Linked DNA regions of Homo sapiens: region 1 is linked to region 2. Evidence: promoter capture Hi-C in 16 types of primary human blood cells and fetal thymus (Javierre and others, 2016). All regions are on one chromosome and are shown on one strand. Each heading gives the region's core, a stretch centred on a gene start or on the middle of the fragment in contact. The rest is flanking DNA. Distances are from core to core; before and after follow the strand shown. Region 1 has its middle 41 kb from the start of LINC01765. Region 2 holds the start of VANGL1 (VANGL planar cell polarity protein 1).

What was found. The method cuts DNA at HindIII sites, captures the fragments that hold promoters and counts their contacts. A CHiCAGO score of 5 or more calls a contact.
Region 1: a fragment that was not itself captured here is called in contact with the fragment with the promoter of VANGL1 in region 2 in 1 of 17 cell types (fetal thymus); the score reaches 5.2 in fetal thymus.

What each region holds. Positions count from the first base shown.
Region 1 is chr1:115,139,146-115,142,325 of GRCh38, forward strand. No RefSeq gene overlaps it. Among named protein-coding and RNA genes, the nearest start is that of LINC01765, 41 kb to the left of the region's middle. The HindIII fragment of the contact is 1,853 bases long and covers 624-2,476 here.
Region 2 is chr1:115,640,070-115,643,248 of GRCh38, forward strand. It overlaps VANGL1 (VANGL planar cell polarity protein 1), which reads left to right and starts at 1,901. Exons shown (of 8, transcript NM_138959.3): 1 at 1,901-2,017. RefSeq lists a silencer at 1,633-2,622 and an enhancer at 1,758-2,516. The HindIII fragment of the contact is 1,717 bases long and covers 1,098-2,814 here.

The DNA of each region.
Region 1 (3,180 bases), core at 300-2,799, 500 kb before region 2:
CCAGTTACGCTCCCGTTGCTGGCAGCTTGAGCCAAGCAGCACAGACGCACTTACGGCTCAGGCCAGTCTCCTTACCAGGCGCCATCATTCTCTTCACATGGACCCTTTGTTTCTCTCATTGCCTTCCCCTCACCTCACCTCACCTCATGCTCCCCCTGGAGGTACACAACCTTCACCTATGGCACATTCAGAACTTTCCCTACTTCCTTTAGCGGTAGCCAATAATATCTGAAATAACTTCAGCTAAGACCCTAATTAATGCCCATTCCTGAGGGTGTCTTCCTCCTGTTGGGTTAGTTGCGACTTACCAATTGCTTTTAATGCCTTTGAGTGACATGGGACAGTGATGTGTCCTGGTGGTGGGGATATTTTTGATGGGAAGGATGGGGTTTCCCTAGAGCCCCTCAAGCCACCCCACACAGTGGCCTTCCTAGGAGTGCTCGGCCCCGCCTGTCGTGCCAAGGGCCCGCGTCCATCGGCGTTCCACTCACAACATGCCTACCTATGGGAGTGTGGTGGGCCCTCGGGAAGTTAGTGTCCAGTTTTGAACAGAGTTGTACTTTTTATTTTTATTTTTTAAGAAAATGTGGTAAAAGTAATGCATTATTCAGCTTCATTCATAAAGCTTCTTTTTCATGGAGTTCCACAGTCTTATGTGTTGTGAAACCACACTTGAATTATTGTGGATAATTACTATTATCCACAATAATTGTGCATCTCTTTTTAAATACTGTGGGAATTACTCAAGGGTGATATCAAAAGGAATGGCACATCGGAGTGCTGGGGCTCTGGGAGCTGTGCCATTGGAGGGTCAGTTGAAGAAATGGGGATGGTGTAGACTGGAGAAGAAAAGACGTTAGAGAAGTATGACAGCTTCCTGACATGCAGATGCTTCTATTTCCATCAACATGTTATAAAGAATTAAAAAAATAAGTGTTGTCAATATTCAAGAAGCTCCTGGGATCCCTTTTGTAGAGCAGAATCTGGGGAGTGGGGTAAGACAGGAAACAACAGAAAATTAAAAAGCAAGAGAGGCTGAGAGTATCCACCATCATTAGTTGTGCAGGATGGGGGTGGGGGCCTCGTGGAGAAAGGCTGCAGCCTGCTTGCGGGCTTGGTTGGGAATAGTCAGAAGAGGGAGAGTTTTGGGAGCCTCTACACCGAGTAGGAGATCCAAAGAGAAATATGAGGAAAAAGGATTGTAAGAGGATGATTGTTTTTTAGTAATTTTTGAGAACTCCCAGCATGTTTTGAATTGCATTTTCACCTACTCTAGGTTGTTAGACTCTTATTTGAATGAGATTTTATTGAGACAGGAATACATGGAATGCTGGGATTACCTCGGTTAAATGAGGAAGCATTTTTCTAATAACCAGTCAAGAGCAGGCCAGGCTTCCTCACCAGGATGAGTTGAGACCTACTGAGTTTGGATGAGCACCTGTAAGGAATGTAGGGGTGTTCTGCCCTGGGTGGAAGGCTGTGATGGCTTCTAGGATCCCTTTCAATTCTGAGGTTCTATGACTTCATGAAAACAAGACATTGCTGGACAAGTTTGAGTGGCCCACCTTCCTACCTGCCTATCCCACAGTCTGAAGTGGCATTTATGAAAAGCTGGGAACACAGAAGGAGACAATGGGTCTCCAGCCTACGGTGAACAGTTCTTTTCTGGCAGCTAATTTAGCTCTAGAAGTTTCCAGTTCCCACCAAAACATTGAGAGATCATCCTGTAGTTTGGGGCACACAATCAGAACAGTTAAATAAAAATGCAAGTGGTTAGTTTTACATCTGCTGGGGACATTCCATGGCCAGCTACATAGAAGTCTAGGCATTCTATGTCTCCAGCCCTAGGAGCTGGGGATACAAGTGTCACTGAGACATAGCTCTTATTCTTGAGGCATTCATCATCTGTGGAAGAGAGAGCCATGGAAACCAGTGATTACAATCCAGTGTCCCAGCATAGATAGAAATATGCATAAGGAGGGGGACATGGGAGGGGAGGACAGCTTTGCTGCAGAGGCTGTTCTTGAGCAAGTTTGAAAGAGTAAATGTGGTCTACCAATGAGGCTTACCAAGAGCAAGGCTATGGAAAAGGCATTCCAGGCAGACAAAGCACCATGGGCTTAGGAGCAGATATGTGAGGCCAAATAATGTATTAGGGGAGTTGAGGCCAGGGAGGGGTGGTCTGGCTGGATCCTGAAGGTCTAGTTATGAAGTTGTATGACATGAGACTGCAGAGCTGTGAAGGGCTTTGTCTTCCATGCTAAGGAGTGTCAGCTTTATCCTACAGAGGTTTTGGATTCCTGAAGCATTTTAATCCTACCCCTTTGTGGCGAGCAAATAGAGGATGGATTGGAGGGGTGTGAATGAGTGTGTACACATGTAAACGCACATTTATGGTTGTGCATGGTCCAGATAAGGGCTCAGGGGCATGGGGAAACTTCCCAAGCAGAGAGCTTCACAATCTGTTTCTAAACCAAGCTTCTATCCCCAAATTGTTTCACTTTATTCTTGTGGAATAATAAAAAAAGTCATTTAGCTCAATTATCTCATTTGACAGAGTTGGAAATTGAGGCCCCAAGAGGGACAGTTCCTTGCCCAAGGCTACATAGCTAGGGATTGGCAGATCCCATGGATTGTTGGCTCTTGATCCAGTGCTTTCTTTATGATGTCATTCTGTTTTCTGAAATTCTCTGATACCCATAGGACAATGTTCTAGCTCTGGAGAATGGCTGATAAGGCTTTGGCAATCTGGGCACAACTGTCTTTCTTCCCCATTAGGTCCCCAGCACATAGTATGCCTGGGGACATCTCTATGCCTCACTTTAAAAATCTCCTGATTCTACTCTTCCTGAAGAACTCCTACTTCCTCTTTAAGGTCCAGGGCAAATGTCACCGCTCATCTGAAGCAGTCCCTTAGCTCAGTGACTCCTCTGGGCAAAACAAATCATGTATCCTCCGTGTTTGTAAAGCACCCAATATGGCAGGTTTATTAGCTTCCTGCTCCATGAGTCTGCAGGCTCCTTGAAGAAAGGCATCATTTCTATCTGCTTCCTGGTTGTAGCTCCAGTGCCTAGCATGGTACCTGGCACATACTAGATGTCCACAAAATGTTTGTTGAATGACTAAATTAATGAATGTATCAATTAAAAGTCTCACCTCAAATCCCTTCATATGGGTCTA
Region 2 (3,179 bases), core at 651-3,150:
CCTGAGTAGCTGGGATTACAGGTGCCTGCCACCACGCCTGGCTAATTTTTTTATTTTTAGTAGAGATGGGGTTTCGCCATGTTGGCCAGGCTGGTCTTGAACGCATGACCCCAAGTGATCTGCCCATCTCAGCCTCCCAAAGTGTTGGGATTACAAGCTTCAGCCACCAAGCCCGGCCTCTACATGGCATTTAAAGGTGAATTTATTATTTTAAAATAGGTTATTTGCAACTACCCCTCTTTCCCACAAAACATCATCTGGTAAGGTGGCTAGACATAAGAACCTAAGTGAATTAGAATTACTTTCTGAAAACTCATTGAAGATCTCTGTGTTAATTGGAGCTATTCAGGTACATGACTAGAATTGGAAATCCCTGGCCTGTTTGAACTTTGAAAGTTCTACATTTTAGAGATGAGAGAGACATGTTTTTATAATGTTCTACATTTCTGACCCTGAGTGCTGATTTGGGTGAATAGACCATTGGCTTTACCCATAGGAACCTGGCTGCCTGAGTCAGCAACATCTGCTCTCTGGAGCCTACTGGGAGGCTGGGGGTGGGGGAGGAAGATGGTCTAGGCCACTGAGTGGGGCAGCAGAGCCTGGGGACTAGGAGTGGTGAAAATCAGCCACATTGAACATATGGGTGTCTTCTCAAGGAAATGTGACATATGCGAGAGAAAATGGAGTCTAGAAGGGATGAGGAAGAGGTGATCAAGGGAGTGAGGGGTTCTTGGAGCCAAGGTTCCCTGATTAAGGCTAGTCAGGGTGGGCCTGCATTTCCCCACCCCAAATGCCCGCAATACTCCTGTAGACAACTCTTAGGAAATTCAGCACTTCATTATACACTGCTTCCACTGGAAAATCCTGCCACGTAAGCAGCTTTGGGTCCCAGCTAGATTGGAGATGATCAGTAAGGAACCCTAATGCTACCAACACAAGACAACTAAGAAAAGTGCAAATATTCATGAAAATCGTTGCCAACTGTTTTGTAATCCTCACCACAATCCTGCAAGGTGGACAGCAGCATCCTCACCACTTTTCAGACAGGTAAACAAAGGCTCAGAAAGGAAACAGTACCTGGTTGGAATCAGCACTGAAGCTTCAGCTACCTGCCTGCAGAGATGTGCTCATCTAGCAGTTTCTAGGAGACTAGGCTGGCGGCAGTGCCTGCTCTGATAAGGGAGGAGGAGGGGAGAGGCTTGCTGTGGTGGCTTGTAGGGGGTGTGTGTGTGTGTGTGTGTGTGTGTGTGTGTGTGTCTATTTGTGGGGTCATTTCCAGGGCTACATGTGAGTTTAAGTGTGTGTATATGGGTTGAGATATGGTGTATATGGATATTTGTCGGTCAGTTCTTGGAAAGTGTGTATATGAGTGTGTGTTGAGTGGGGTTGGGGGGTTAGTCCCTGAGCCGTGTGAATATGTGGATGGGGGCACTCGTGAGGGCAAATGGGCTCGGATTTTGTGCATGATTGTGTGTGTGTGTGTGTGTGTGTGAGCTTGAGATTCCAAGTATGTGGGGGAGGGAGGGGGCGGTGTCGGAGATCAATCCCTGGGCCATGTGTTTATAGTGTGTGTGTCTGCCCAGAAGAGAGTGGGTTACTGGGCTGTGCACGTCTGTGTAGGGTGAGTGTGTGTATGAGGGTGAATGAGTGTGGGAGGTGTCATTCCCTGGTCCGTGTGTAAGAGTGTGACCGCGCACGCCTTCGTGTGTGTCCCGGGTGTGTGGGGTCGGGGCGGTGACGAGGTGAGGGGGACGCCGGCCGAGCCCCGCCCTCCGCTGCAGGTGGGCCGGCCCCGCGGCGGGGCCGGCAGCGCTAGCTGTTCTTGGCTCGCGGCCGCGCCGGGCTCGCAGGGCTGGGCTCGGGCTGCGGGGCGGCGCCGGGACAGGAAGCGGAAAGCAGCAGTGCAGCGGCGGCGGCGGCGGGGCTCTGCCTCTCCAGGAGCCCAGCGCAGGCCGCAGAGCCGGGGCCGCTGTGAGCCGAGACCGCGGGCCGCGGAGCTCGGGCGGCCGGCGCGGAGGTGAGTCCCGCGAGAGGCCGAGCGCTGCGCGGCGGCGGTCCCCGGGGCAGACCGTTGGCTGGGAGACGCCCCCACCTCGGACCCCGCGTGCCCCTGCGCCCTCCTCCCGCATTCGCCCCGCCGGACTTCGACCCCGGGTGGCCGGCTCCCGCCTCGGGCCGGGGGCTCCCTCCCCTCCTCCGGAGCGCTCCGGGTAGTGCTTCCTCTGACTCCACTCTTCTCCCCATGCGTTGCGCCCCTCCTGGCCCTGCCGTGCGATCTCCGCCGCACCCCACTCCTTGGGGTCCCGGGGTTCCCTGCTCACACCTCGGACGTCCCTTTCTCCCCGGGCTGGCCTTTGGAGTGCGCCCCTTCGGTGCGCGTGCCGGGGCGGCGGGCAGGCCGGCAGGGAGTGGCCGAGCGTTGGAGGCACCGGGCGGCTGCAGCAGCCGTGCAGGGCGGGAGCCGGGCGCGCACCGGGGTTCCCACCCCTGGCGGGGCTCGACCCGGGCGCCGCCTGGCCCTTCGCCAGGAACCGGGACAGAGCTGGTCTGTGTGCACACCTCGCTCACAAAAAATTGAGCCGGCCCTGGAGGCCTGGGGGGCGAGTCCGGTTGCGCCTCGGAGAGCGCAACAGGCAGGTAGGAGTTTACTTTCAAAAACGCCGGGGTGGAGCAGAGGCGCCTGGCGGGTCTCTGCCCAAGGTGTCCCTGCTGGAGGAAATCTCACCGCGCCGGGGCAGCCTTCGCCACCGGCAGGACCTCATTTCCTTCTGCAGTCTTTGAACTGCCCCAAGCATCGCGCCTAGAGAAGTGTGAAGCTTTATAAAAATTTAAACGCGTCCGTGGTGGCGGCAGCAGTGGGGCGGAGCCGCGGCCTGGCTGCTGTGTGATGAGCAGATGAGACTTGGAGCTGAGGAATCTGTTGCTCAGTTTTCACTTCTCCAAACCAGGTCTAATGCCCACGCTGCGAAGGTGTTGTGAGCTCTCTTAGATTCTCCTTAGGAAGTGTTAGAGCGCCTTATGATGATGATTGTGTAGATGGCCCATGCATTTTGTTAAAACTCTTGACCTGGCTTTGGTTAGAAATGAATGTATTCTTAGACACTTAGTCCAAAAGCTAACAAACTGTAAAAGAATCTGGCATTTTCACTGACATGTTTATAAATTTTACGGGGCTGCTG